4 separate regions of the Homo sapiens genome follow, and all the other regions are linked to region 1. Evidence: promoter capture Hi-C in human tissues and cell types (Jung and others, 2019). All regions are on one chromosome and are shown on one strand. The core of a region is centred on a gene start or on the middle of the fragment in contact, and the rest is flanking DNA. Distances in the headings are between cores, read along the strand shown. Region 1 holds the start of PHLDB1 (pleckstrin homology like domain family B member 1). Region 2 overlaps UBE4A (ubiquitination factor E4A). Region 3 overlaps ATP5MG (ATP synthase membrane subunit g). Region 4 overlaps KMT2A (lysine methyltransferase 2A).

Region 1 (3,319 bases), core at 579-3,078:
GGACACATTGCACAGCGCCTTTATCATAGGGTCAGCTGGTCCCTGTGTTGGGAGGTCAGTGAGAGAAGTTGGGTGCTGTTTCGACCCTCTGCCTCAGCATCCACTGCCTCCATGGCAGGCTTGATTATTCCCTGAAATTCCTCCTGCCCAGTACAGTAAAGAGGAGCTGGGGGCCGTGAAACAGAATGAAGTGAAAAGCCTCTGAGGTACTGCAATCTGGACCCCTCCCCTCAGTGCTGGGTCTTGGCACATGGGATACAACAGTTTGGGTTTTTTCCTTCTTCCTTTTTTTACATACCCAAATAGCCTGAATATTACTGTTGTGATCTGCCTCATGAAGGTTCATCAGAATTACTTTCATGACTTCAAACAGTATGAAGAGAGGAAAAACTAGAGTCTCGCTCCTCAAATCCTAGGACTTCCTGGTACCCACAGCATATTCTGGATCTTGAGTGTTCCACCTCCATTAGCTATAGCAGGTGGCAGCAAAGGGCGGCCTCTCCCCTCCCCCTCCTTGTCTGCTGCTTGGCCCCGGTCAGCTTCAGTCTCCAGCCGTGGGGGGTCCCCTGCTAAGGCCAGCCCTGTCAATGAGTGACCAGAGATTCCTGTAGTTCAGCCTCCTGCTGTTCCTGGGTTAGGGAGAGACGGCACAAACTAAACTCATTGAATTAGAACAGCACTTGTCCATCTCAAAGAGGATAAATTATTTTTTGCTATCCACCCCAGCTGGAATTTAGACCAGACTTACAGGCTTTCTGCTCCTTCCTTCAGTGAAGAAGAGTCTCCAGGGTCCCTCTAGTGCAGGTCAAAGAAGTCCAGTCCAGCTGAGTTCAGCTCCCTAGGGCCTCCCCAGCCAGTCTCCTGGACCAAGAGCTGGCTTTGCAAGGTAAGGATCCACTGTCAGCGTTGGATTTCGGAGTGGAGGTTGAGATGGAGAATGACTTCAACCTAGCTCAATTTGGGGGCTGCTTTTAGGTGTTTAGTGCCTCCTTCTCTTCCTTATTAACTCCCACTCCTACTACAGGTTGGTGTGCTCAATTGTATGTCTATAGCCTGCCTCCATCTCCCAATCTGTAATCCAGCAAGTCTGTCGGGGTGGAGGGGTGTGGAGCTCCATGGGGGCAAGATGATAATTCCATTCGGTTTTCCTGTGCTTTGGAGTTTGCATGACACTTTAACGAGTCTTCTTGTGCCTATCCTTAAGAAAGTCTGTGAAGCCTGATGTGCGTGGCTATCAATGTCATTTACAGCTCTTCATGGTGGGGCTTGGAATAGGGCGAGGGGAGGAGGTGACAGGGAGAAGACCTGGGTACCCTCAGTAGATGTTCTGGAGATGTTGAGAGCATGTTGTAGGGGCTTCGATTTGGGAGGTTCAGTGGGAGCCCGTGGAGGTTTCAGGCATCTAAGGCAAAAAGAAAGAGGGGAGAGTTTGGGGGAGGGAGAACGGATTGTCAAAAACACCCTCTCAAAAGCGTGTTAAAGCCTGGGAGTGGAGGGTGGTCTAGGAGAGTCGGGAGGGCAGGGTGGGAGGAGAGGGGGATGTGTGGTGGTGGTGGTGGTGGTGGTGGTGGTGGTGGTGGTGGTGGTGGTGGTGGTGGTGATGGTGGAGAGCCCAGCTGCAAAGATGAACAAAGCGGGCGCTGTGCAGGCTGGGGGAGGTGCTGCTGTGGGAAAGGGTGGGTGGGGGGACCTTGGGCTCCAGCCCCACAAGGGCGTCTTCTTTGGCTGGCCAGGCGGACGGGACGGGGGACGGGGGCGGGGACTGGCGGGAGGGGGGCGGGACAGGCTCGCTCTCCTCCTACTTAGCGAGCTCCCGGGGAAAAGCAACGGTGTCCTCCTAAGCCTGAGGCCACCGCGACCGAGCCGAGCCAGGCTAAGGGACCAGTGTCTCCCTGCCCCCCCCCCACCTCTAGGTAAGAGCGCCCCGTCCCACTACACTTGCGGGTCCCATTCGCTGCGGTGCTAGGACTGGATAAGGGGAAGTCCCCGGGGCCTGGCGAGAGCCCTGAGATCAGCTCTAGGCTAGGGAGCTCGGCAGAAACCCGTGGGGGAGAGAGGGCACCCCAGGTGAGTGCGTGGGGGCGAAAGGAGCGTTATGGGGAGTTTTCCTGTGAGCCTCTTGCTTTTGCCTTCCTCGGCCGCTGCCAACGCCACCGCCAGAGGGGGCCGTGACGCTCTCCCCCCCTTGGAGAAACTCTGATCCTGGCCCTATCCAGACTCTCCCGCCGGCACCCAGGCGGCCGGGCGGACACTCGCGGGGTATCGGGCGGCGAGCGCGCGCGCGGGTTTTCGTCCTCCAGCGCCCCACACCTCCCCCTCTCCGCCCACAGCAGGACCTTGGGGCGGGGGTATCTCCTGTGACGTCTCCCCGCCTGTCCCCAGGCCGGCCGCCTTGATGGACCAGGAAGGGATTCGGAGTCCGGCTCAGAGTCTTGAGCGTCTAGGAGGGCTGCCTGGGGGTGTCCAGGAGATGGGAAGCCCGCCTGGGGCCTCCCAGGCACTCCCCAAGGCCCCACGTCCTCGGGGGCCGGGGAGGCCGCCTGGGGCGCCTTGCCACGCCCGCGCGGTCCCTATTGGAATCCCTAGCGGAGTTCCCCGAGCGGAGGCTGACCCAAGTCATCCGGGCTCCCCCGGGATAGGGAAGTGCGGGCGGGCGGCTGGGTAGGGGCGCCGGCGCAGGGTGGCCGAGTCGCCCGCTAGCGCTTCCGCCGAGGCAGGCTCGAGTGGGGACTTGGCCGGGCGACCGCACAGCCCTGCCGGGGACCCACGGCTCTGGGGCGGGGCTGCATTCTGGGCCGTTAGCTCAGCGGTCCTGGAGCCTCCCGAGGCTGACTCATCGGGCGGCGGGCTCACCCCCCAGCCGTCAAACGCAAACGCAGGCGCCCCACCACGCCGGGCTCCCACGCGGCACACACGCACGCCTCCGCGACACTTCGCACACCTACGTCCCTGCGTCACGCCACCCAGACACACCCGGACCCGCCCACACGCCGAGGCCTTCCCACGCACTCCATGCCTTACGCCTCACAGGAAAGCGCCCCGCGCTCACGCAGCCCCTCACACCCGCAGCCCCGCTTACACGCGCCCCAGCTCACACATGCACCCCAGTCACACAGCCTACCTCACACACGCACCCCAGTCACACACACAACCCAGCTCACACACGTACCCGTCACACATGAGGCCCCAGCTCACACACGAAGCCCAGCTCACACACGCAGCCCCAGCTCTCACACACACACCCCAGTCAAACACGAGGCCCCAGCTCACACACGAAGCCCAGCTCACACACACTGCCCCAGTTACACAGCCCAGCTCA
Region 2 (3,319 bases), core at 429-2,928, 220 kb before region 1:
TAAACTTAAGTCAATGTTATTTCTCATTTCAAGTTTTCTCACTCATAGCTTCTAGTCCTCTTTTCCAAAGGAAGATACTGTGACTTGTAGAATTGCTTCCCTGATTTTTTTGATGCATAGGCTAAAGGAAGTGGAAACTCTGTGTACAAAAGTGAAGATTTGCTGCACAATGAAGAGAATGACCCACAATTCCCTGAGCCGTATCAGTGATAAGTAGAGAGAAGCCATTTCTTCACTGAGCTGAGCATACCTAATGAGAAGTCATAAGTCAACAAGTATTATGCATACACTGTATGCGTCATGGGTAATGTAGCATAATTATATTCTAGTCTTTACCCTCAGAAAGCTTGAAAAGGCAAGTTTATTCCACATGAAACTGTCAGAGAATAGGAAGCAGTAAATAATGCATTATTACAGAGAAGTAAACAATGGCTAAGCATTCAATAGAAACTTAAGTGCTCACCGTCATATTTGGTAAGCTGTCAACTCAAGAGTTAAATGATGTACCCTGCATCACCACCCCACCCCCCGCCCAGCCGCACCAAGAAACTGACAAACTTAAAACTGCAGAAGTGGATCCTTTTTTTTCCTGTAATATGGTTTAGGGTGGATTTTGATTCTTATGTGGAGAGAACAGAGTCATAAATTTGGAGTTAAGCTTATCTGCTCATCTTGCTTTTTGCCCATTTTGCAGAATGAAGAATCCCCACCTGAGGGCCAAACTAGCAGAGGTGTTGGAAGCAGTGATGCCCCACCTGGATCAGACCCCAAATCCCTTGGTATCCAGTGTGTTCCACCGGAAACGTGTGTTCTGCAACTTTCAGTATGCACCCCAACTTGCAGAGGCTCTAATCAAGGTTTTTGTGGACATCGAATTTACAGGTAAAGCAGTCATGAAGCTGAGCCCAGAACTGGGAAGCTGATACCAGTGGAGTTTCATAGTTTGATCCGTATTTGGATATCAAAGAAATGTCAAGCCATTACTTATTGAATACCTACTATATGCCAGGCTTGATGATAAGTGCTTTTTTTTTTTTTTTAACATTATCCCATTGTCACCATTGGAAAAGTTTCACTCTATTATCCCTGTTTTATTTATTTTTTATTTTTTAATTATTCTTGTTTTACATATGAAGACATGACTGCCCAAAAGATCAGTTTGTCCATGTCATAACAAACTACCAAGTGGTAGAATCAGGTCTGTGTCACCTAAAGAAATCTACATATTCAACACCCTTATTATGTTGCATCATCAAATCAGACTCAAATTAGACTATTTGGGTCTTTATATTTCTCTGCCTTAAAATTACAGAATAGTGCATAAAGAGGCAGTGTATTGGTTGAGAGATTCTTTTATCTTAACCAGACTATCTAACTCTCCAACAGTCTAATGGTTCGATTAAAAATACCAGCAGGCGGACAGGCACAGTGGCTCATGCTTGTAATCCCAGCGTTTTGGGAGGCCAAAGTAGGCAGATCACTTGAGCTCCTGAGTTTGAGACCAGCCTGGCCAACATGGTGAAACCCATTCTCTACAAAAATACAAAAATTACCCAGGCATGGTGGCAGGTGCCTGTAATCCCAGCTACTTAGGAGGCAGAGGCACGAGAATTGCTTGAATTCGGGAGGCAGAGGTGGCAGTGAGCTGAGATCGCACCACTCCAGCCTGGATGACAGAGCAAGAAATCCCTCTCAAAAAAAAAAAAAAAAAAAAAAAACCAGCAGGCAACATTCCCTCTCTATCTAACCCTGAGCCCCTGTGTTTGTTTAAACAGTACCCTGTCTCAATCAGTAAATAAGATATGTTAAGAAGTTGTTGAAGACCATTTTTTAAAGGGATATCTACCATCCAATGATAAATACAACTAACATTTAAAGAGGCATTTAACATTTTACTGGCCGCCTTTCCATATTTGGATTCTGGTTTTTTTTAATTCGCTCACCTATCAACCTTAGTTTCCTCATCTATAAAATGGGTCAAAGTGATGATTAAGTGAAATAATGCATGTAAATCTTTATAATACATAAGAAATTGTATAATAAATCATTGCAGTTATCTCGTTATGTGACCATACAACCAAAGTGTTGTAATGGAGTACAATTTCTGTTTTATTTCTGAGGAAGTGGAAGCTGAAGAAGATTAAGAGACTTAGATTAAGCAGAGCCAGAATGAAAACGTAGGTCTTTTGACTCCAAATCCTACACTCTTCCTTTATTATGACCCAGCCTGTGGAGCTCTAGTAATACCTTTGGTATTTCAAAAGCAGTATAAGCCTCAGATTTTTAGCTCCTGACCTGATTTTTCAGAGTAATCAAGAACCTGTTGGCTACACAGTTTGGGATATTGTCTGTGAAGAATGTGGGAATTGCTTAGTGTCCCGTCCTGCACATGGCTTTCACTGCCATAATGGCCAGCCCTGAGCCCTCATTTAAAGCCTGAGAAGTACTCATGTTTGGATATGGAAACATTTGTTTCCCTTAACTTTTATTTTACAGCTTGGTACTTGTCTCTTGCAGAGTAAGGTATCCTTTATCTCTGTCTCCCCCTTACTTCATCAGTAAGGAAATGAGCAAACACTTGGCGATAACTCTAGGCCTTTAGAAACTCCAGGGCAGATTTTGTTAGTAGCCTTAACACACTCAAAAGCAAATGACTACAAAGCAAATGGCTACACATAAGCATAAACTCTTCCTCTTATGGCACCGCCTTTGCTGATATTTCGCTCTTGCCTTACTCCAGGAGACCCCCATCAATTTGAACAGAAGTTTAATTACCGCCGTCCCATGTATCCTATCCTAAGATACATGTGGGGGACAGATACCTATCGGGAGAGCATTAAGGTGAGAGAGTTTTTGATGAAACCTGTTGCTTTATATAAGCCCTAATGAGTTGTAATTCAGTACTAAAATGGTTTTCTTGTGGGCTGGGACTTACAGGATTTGGCTGACTATGCCTCTAAGAATTTAGAAGCCATGAATCCCCCACTTTTCCTCCGCTTTCTTAACCTGCTAATGAATGATGCCATCTTCCTTTTGGATGAAGCCATACAGGTAAAAAAAAAAAAAAAAAAAAAGATTTAACTTCTCCATACCATCAAATCATCAGCAGTACATACATTTTACCTTTTAATCATAATAGAGCAGTCCTTATGCCCCTAGTACCAGACTTGAACACCAAAAATTTGTGATTAGTAGTGTACCACCAAGCTTGTCATTATAGAGCTTTCTAGTTCATTCCATTAGAGACCAAGATCAAGGGTCATTGAAGCATCATGAGATGGACATTTTGGCAGAGTCAAAAATACCATATGGTGAAGCC
Region 3 (3,319 bases), core at 494-2,993, 200 kb before region 1:
GGGCGCAGTGGCTCACGCCTGTAATCCCAGCACTTTGGGAGGCCGAGGCGGGCAGATCACGAGGTCAGGAGATCAAGACCATCCTGGCTAACACGGTGAAACCCCATCTCTACTAAAAATACAAAAACTTAGCCGGGCGTGGTGGCGGAAGCCTGTAGTCCCAGCTACTTGGGAGGCTGAGGCAGGAGAATGGCAAGAACCTGGGAGGCGGAGCTTGCAGTGAGCCGAGATCGCGCCACTGCACTCCAGCCTGGGTGACAGAGCGAGACTCCATCTCAAAAAAAAGAAAAAGGAAAGAAAAGAACTGGAACTTGGATTTTATTTGCATGATCCAAGCACAGAGTACAAAAAGCCTAAACAATTGCTAGTTTTAGAGCCTACATCCTGGGAAGTGTGGTTGTTTTTCAGAAGACTTCCATAAATTTCTGGTCTAATTTGATGGGGAAAATTCACTTCCAGAAGTGCTAAAAGGAAAAGGTCCAGTTTTGTTATGGAAAGTTATTTTTTCAACTAGAATTTCAAGATCCATATTATTGCTCCATGTATTAATAACAGTGCTTTCCTGAGCCATATGTGCATATTTCTCTTTGGGACAACAAAATGTTGATATGAATACCAGATACTTAGTCAGAGTTAAGTCAAATACTGAATGAATAAAAATGAGGTCTAAAGGGGAAGACAGCACTTCATCTTTCAGCAGATTTTCTTTTGCCAGACAAAAATGTCTATTCAGAGACTCGGCCTTCCTATAGCCATCCTATCTAAATGCGCCAGCTATATCCAGGATGTGGATTGTTTTAGGGCTCATAAAGTGTCTCATAAACTTATAATGAAAGGGTTAAGTCAGTTCAGGTCTTTAAAGAATGCTTTGAAAGAATTTATATAAGCTTTGACTACTTACCTTACAAAATTGAAAGTTCAAGGGTTCTCAGCAGTTGAAGAGAAGTAATGTTAGTAATTCTCAACTTTGACTAAAACTGCCTTCTAGTTTGAATAGCATCTTTTATGTTCTTTGTCTCCTTAATTCTGGAAAAGAATAGTTTCAAATATATATATATATATATAATTATATATATATATAAAAGGTACCTTAAAATGTATGCTTCTTTTTTCAGGAAGCTGTGCTGAATGGTTTGGTGGCCACTGAGGTGTTGATGTGGTTTTATGTCGGAGAGATTATAGGCAAGCGGGGCATCATTGGCTATGATGTTTGAAGACCAATCTTTAACATCTGATTATATTTGATTTATTATTTGAGTGTTGTTGGACCATGTGTGATCAGACTGCTATCTGAATAAAATAAGATTTGTCAAAACTCAGTGTTTTCTCCATCAGATACTCCATGAAAGGTCACAATTTCTCTTGATATTAAGCTGGGTTGTCTTTAAACAACCCTAAATACACGTCTGTTTAGCCCGCAATTGGAAAGGATATATGTGGCAATATTAACCTGGTACATGAATATATGGGGATAACATTTTAATTTGAAGGTTTGGAATATATATATTTAAGCTTTATTTCCAGAACAGTGAGGGTTAGGTCTTGGGAAAACTATAACTTGCCAAAGTAGAAGAAATAGTAGTACCATATGCCAAAGTGATAGAGATGAATCATGTCAGTAGTTAGAATAACATTTCAACTGTTTTCTTTGCTAAAATCACAGAAAGACCCTATTGACAACATCTATGTCTGTAAAAATGTTAGAGTACTTGTCATCTTGAATATAGCCTCCCCAAGAGAGAACAGGGTGGTATTCTAAGTATGTTTCTTTGTAACATCTTTAGCAGTAGGACAGAGCCATACATGTGAAATCTGATTTTTATGTGTGTTATTCGTTTGTCTGGTTTTACTACCTTTGCAAAAACAAAATACCCCAAAGATATTTAAACAAGGTTATAATTTAGCATCTTCCCTGGATCTAAATAGTATATTATATCCTGAAATAAATGAAATGATTGCTATAGTCTGTCTTCTGGAGCGATTTTATTGGGTATATAGGAGAGATTGATCATTCCTTAGCTTTTCCCCGGGATCTTAGAATCCTTAATTGACTCATTGGTACTTTCCTAAATCCACTGTTATTCTTGCAGCCACAGCAAAACATGCAATACCAACTGATGATAACCAAAAGGTGGTTGCATATTTATTACAAAAGCATTATGGCTCACAATACAGTATTAATCCTTTAATAGTGTTGAACCTTTATCCGGTCAATCCCAAATTTACCCACTGCATTTAGAACACTGCTATTTTAGCCTAATAAACGTCACAGCTTATCTAAGTGATAGGCAAGAAAGTCTCCATAGAGACTGCCACGCTGCTAAAATGTGAAGTAATGCCTAACTTACTCCTGCAATAAACAGGTGGTCAAAACTGAAATGACCTCTTTTCAAAAAGTACTCAAAAAGACTGATATGAGAAAGGCAATCAGTTTCTTTTTCATACAGTGCATGATTATTCAAATTAACCAGAAAAAAACAAGGTAGGAGATCAGCTAGTACTAGTTAAAACCTACAGACACCTAGTTGATTAATGATATGTAATGTGATTGTTTTTAACGCCACGGTCACACCAGAAGGTCCTCAAAATAAACATTTACTACTCACTTCACTGCAACTTCCTCCTGCTTTGCCATACACAACACCTCTGGTCTCCCCTGTGGCTAATAGTGCATGTACGGAATTTTCTTAGGTTAAAATAGCAGTGAGCTCCTTGAAGTGGCCACTTGACTTCACCAGGCTTGTTTCTCTTTTTTTTTTTTTTTTTTTTTGTCCTCATCAACCCCAAATATCTTCTAACAGAACTGTTGAGGCTTTCAATGAATGTGTGCTGCCAAGTGTTTGGCATTGGCAAACTCGGTGTTTATTGTGCACCTCCTAAGTTCTAGGCACAATTAAAATGGCAGAAACATTCATGAACAAGACTGTTACCTGTTTCACAGAGTTTGATCTGGTAAGACAGGTAATTAGGCATGCAATTACTGTAATAAGATGTGAGAAGTACTATAATGAGGGAAGGGGAAGGTATACTTGAAAGGCTAACCCAGGGCAGGGTGCAGTGGCTCACACCTGTAATCCCAGCACTTTGGGAGGCCAAGGCGGGCAGATCATGAGGTCAGGAGTTTGAGACCAGCCTGGCCAATATAGTGAAACCCTGTCTCTACTAAAAACACAAAAATTAGCCAGGCGTGGTGGCACACACCTGTAGTCCCAGCTACTCGGGAGGCTGAGGCAGTAGAATCACTTGAACCTGGGAGGTGGAGGTTGCAGTGAGCCGAGATCACACCACTGCACTCCAGCCTGGGCGACAGAGGGAGACT
Region 4 (3,319 bases), core at 310-2,809, 160 kb before region 1:
AATTAAGATCTCTTTGTGCCTGCCCACATTCCACTAGTGTTGGCACAGAGCTTCAGCTTCCTTCTAGCACTTAACTGAAGGCCTTCAATCGGGCCTTTTGTGAATATCTTGTCTCTTTCCATTCTTCCTCTGCCAAGGTGGAGAGCCCAGTGGCATAGACCTTTGAGAAGGGGGAAGCTTTGTGACTATCACTACTTTGGGAGGAATTTATTCGAGGATTGCTGGGATGGGACCTTCCTTTGTTTGCATATGTTATTTTCAGGGATTAAGAAAGGTTAAATTACTAATGAGTCTGGCATGATGTACCTACATTTTAATCAGATTCTTAACCCTGTAGGCACTAGTAGGAAAGAGGATGCCACAGAGTTCACTGTTACAAAGTATTTCCTTGGATCTTATCTAGACTGGTTTATGAAACTTGATGAGTAAAATATTGTCGTGGAGTAAATCTCAGACTCGTGATTTTTGTGGACTCTGAGGTTGTTGAAGACAAGACAATCAGATGAAATTATTGATTGCTCCTAAGTTGTATCGGCTTTGAGACACAGACTGAATTAAAGTTAGCTTTCAGATCTGAGTTAACTTTTGATTAGAAAGACTTTAGGAGGTTCTGGAAATTGTTGAGTTAATTAAGAATACCCTTGTAGGCTCCACTATTTCTTGAGATTTTCAGGAATTGTCTAGGCTTCTAGAGTATTTTCAGAATAAGATAAAATAGCTTTTCTGGAAAAAGTAGTTTGACTTTAGTTTCCAGGACCTTCGTATTCAAAATACAGTATGTTCTTTACTAGATCTACATGTGGCATGCTAGAGAAAATGCTATCTTTTATTAAGAAAAAGGAATCTTAAGTCCTTTACCTGGACCCAGATGGCTTCATTGATCACATCAGTATGAGGTTACGCAGACAAAGGGCTATTTTTGTTGTTGTTATTGTCATTTCATTGGTTGTTGAAGAAGGCCTGGGAGAAGGAAGTACAGGATCTTTTATGGCATGCATTAAATAAAGCTGGAGGCCTGCACTCTTATACCTGAGTGGGTGGTTTTATGGCCTAATTCTCTAATTGCTGGCATTTATGACAGTGTGGATGCTACTGGCCCTGTGGCTGAGGTAGATTATGCTGGGAATAGGGAGGAAAAAGGGGTCCTTTTGTTAGCCTTTTCATTTTGCCCCTCAATAAAGTCTCTGCAAAAACCCTGAGGAAATACAGAGACACTTGGACTGAGGGAATGACTTCCCATAAAATGGTTCTTTATGTTTTTAAAATGATGAGCCGCTTTTCTTGACCTATCCAAAGAAATCCATACCACCACTGTTAAATATTTCAATGAGTTTTTTACCTTGTCAGGTTACACACCAGGGGAAGCCAACCATGAGACTGTAGCTGCTGCCAAACATTCGCTTCTAAAGACTTAAGACATTTGAAAGAAGAATTTTGTTACGTGATTTGTAATTGTTGTGGATGATATAAATCCCCTTGAAGGATTAGTCCAAAACTTCTAAGAGGCCAAGCTTGGTTTAACTTTTAGATGTTGAATTGAATGTATTGCCCTAATGAGTTTTAGTTTTAAGGAAACAACAAAGATATAAGAGTTAGTTGGCAGTTTTGTGTGCAGTGTATGAAAATTCCCCTTCCCTTGAAATGAGTAGTTGTTTTTCTATTTGACAAATAGACTGAAGGGATTTCCCCAGATATCTTACCTTCAATTATTGCTGCAGCAGTACCCTGTGAAGTACCAGTGGGCAGCATCGGTCCAGTAGCATTTATTTCAGGAGCTGGAGTTTCTTCCGTATATAGTGTTTTATCCATTTTCTTGCATTTCTGGTTTTGTGTTTTGTTGGGATGTTTGGGTATAGATGTTTTGATGTCTTTCAGCAACAAAAGATATGAATCTTTCTAACATTCATACTGTTTTAGAGAGATCCACTTGTATTATCTATGCTTTGCTGAAGCATCATTGTTTCATTCTTATTTTACAGCATCAAGGTAATGGTAGCTTTCTGTCTTGAATTAGGAGAGTGATATTACTTGTGAGAAGGGTTTTGGAGAATAGTTTTTTCTTTAGGCTGTCCTTTATACTATCTCAGTTCTAAACACTAGGGAAAAGTTAATTCTTATCTCTAATAAATATCCTACACCTAGAGAAAGAAATATTTACACATGCCCATATTCAACTTCTGTCCATCCATGAGGATTGACCACTTTTTAGATCAAACACAAACATTGTCCCTAGATTATTGCCTTTAATTATAAGCAGTAAAACCTTGTGGATAACATCTCTTTAAGCTTAGCTAATGAGGAAATCCTTTTGTAATCTCTTTGGCTAGGATTTTTTATTTGTGCATATATAAATACCTTTACAGAAGAAAGGGAGAATCTCATAATCTAATCTGTAGTGGTGTGAGATCGTTTAGCATAGTAATTAAGAGTTGTTAAGACCATGGGCTCTGGATTTAAACTGCCTGAGTTCAAATCTAAGCTCAGCCATCTTGAAAAAGTTTTTTTTGTGTTTTGTTTGGTTTGTTTGAGACAGGATCTTGCTTTGTTGCCTAGGCTAGAGTGTAATGGCACAAACATTTCATTTCAGCCTCAACCTCCAGGGCTCAAGCAATCCTCTTGTCTCAGCCTCCTAAGTAGCTGGGACTACAGGCATGCACCACCACACTCAGCTAATTGTTTTATTTGTTGTAGAGATGGGAGTCTCACCATGTTGCCCAGGTTGGTCTTGAACTCCTGGCCTCAAGTGGTCCCCCTACCTCAGCCTCCCAAAGTGTTGGGATTACAAATGTGAGGCACTGCACCCAACCAGAAAAGTTTTTGAACCTCTCCATACCTCTGTTTCTTCATTTGTAACTGAGAGGTACTCATGCTTCATAGTCTCATTGTGAGGCTTAAGTGAGATCATGCATGTAAGCACTTAGCATTTTGCCTGGCACATAGGAAGCCCTAATTGTTAGAACCAAGAGATTGAAAGGAGAGCAGGGTTATAATCTTTTTTTTTCATCAAAATAACTGGTTTTTATTACATTAAGTTATACCTGTATATGTATGCATACATACACCTATTTGAGTGCTATAATCTTAGAATGTTCTTGATATTAGTCTGAGTGTCAAGTTCTTCTATAAACTAGGTGGAACCAAATTGAAGGCCAGCCACCCGTCTTGGTAACAACATTAGTGTCCAACTAAAGCATATTAAAGATAAGGCAAAAAAGAAGAAAGAGAACAAGATGGTAAATAGGCAAGTAAGATACCGAGGAACACAGTGCCTCCATGAGTTGCTAATTATCAGGCCAAGGCAGCTATAATGGGGTTGCTA

What was found. The method cuts DNA at HindIII sites, captures the fragments that hold promoters and counts their contacts. A contact is called where the count stands out against the background at its distance.
Region 2: a fragment that was not itself captured here is called in contact with the fragment with the promoter of PHLDB1 in region 1 in 1 of the 25 tissues and cell types used here (liver).
Region 3: a contact is called between a fragment that was not itself captured here and the fragment with the promoter of PHLDB1 in region 1, in 1 of the 25 tissues and cell types used here (pancreas).
Region 4: a contact is called between a fragment that was not itself captured here and the fragment with the promoter of PHLDB1 in region 1, in 1 of the 25 tissues and cell types used here (hippocampus).

What each region holds. Positions count from the first base shown.
Region 1 is chr11:118,605,787-118,609,105 of GRCh38, forward strand. PHLDB1 (pleckstrin homology like domain family B member 1) reads left to right here and starts at 1,829. Exons shown (of 23, transcript NM_001144758.3): 1 at 1,829-1,913. LOC124902765 (a long non-coding RNA gene) reads right to left here and starts at 2,725. Exons shown (of 2, transcript XR_007062908.1): 1 at 2,337-2,725; 2 at 1-1,402. RefSeq lists silencers at 2,321-2,410, 2,471-2,540 and enhancers at 2,668-2,962, 3,000-3,319. The HindIII fragment of the contact is 15,479 bases long and covers 1-3,319 here.
Region 2 is chr11:118,381,895-118,385,213 of GRCh38, forward strand. UBE4A (ubiquitination factor E4A) reads left to right here. Exons shown (of 20, transcript NM_001204077.2): 13 at 695-882; 14 at 2,741-2,841; 15 at 2,938-3,051. The region is part of intron 3 of LOC100131626 (a long non-coding RNA gene); the gene reads right to left. Among named protein-coding and RNA genes, the nearest start is that of ATP5MG, 18 kb to the right of the region's middle. The HindIII fragment of the contact is 4,714 bases long and covers 1-3,319 here.
Region 3 is chr11:118,407,885-118,411,203 of GRCh38, forward strand. It overlaps ATP5MG (ATP synthase membrane subunit g), which reads left to right. Exons shown (of 3, transcript NM_006476.5): 3 at 1,116-1,963. The coding sequence ends at 1,214. The region is part of intron 3 of LOC100131626 (a long non-coding RNA gene); the gene reads right to left. Among named protein-coding and RNA genes, the nearest start is that of ATP5MG, 7.9 kb to the left of the region's middle. The HindIII fragment of the contact is 5,814 bases long and covers 1-3,319 here.
Region 4 is chr11:118,442,068-118,445,386 of GRCh38, forward strand. All of the region lies in intron 1 of KMT2A (lysine methyltransferase 2A), which reads left to right. Among named protein-coding and RNA genes, the nearest start is that of KMT2A, 7.2 kb to the left of the region's middle. The HindIII fragment of the contact is 5,184 bases long and covers 1-3,319 here.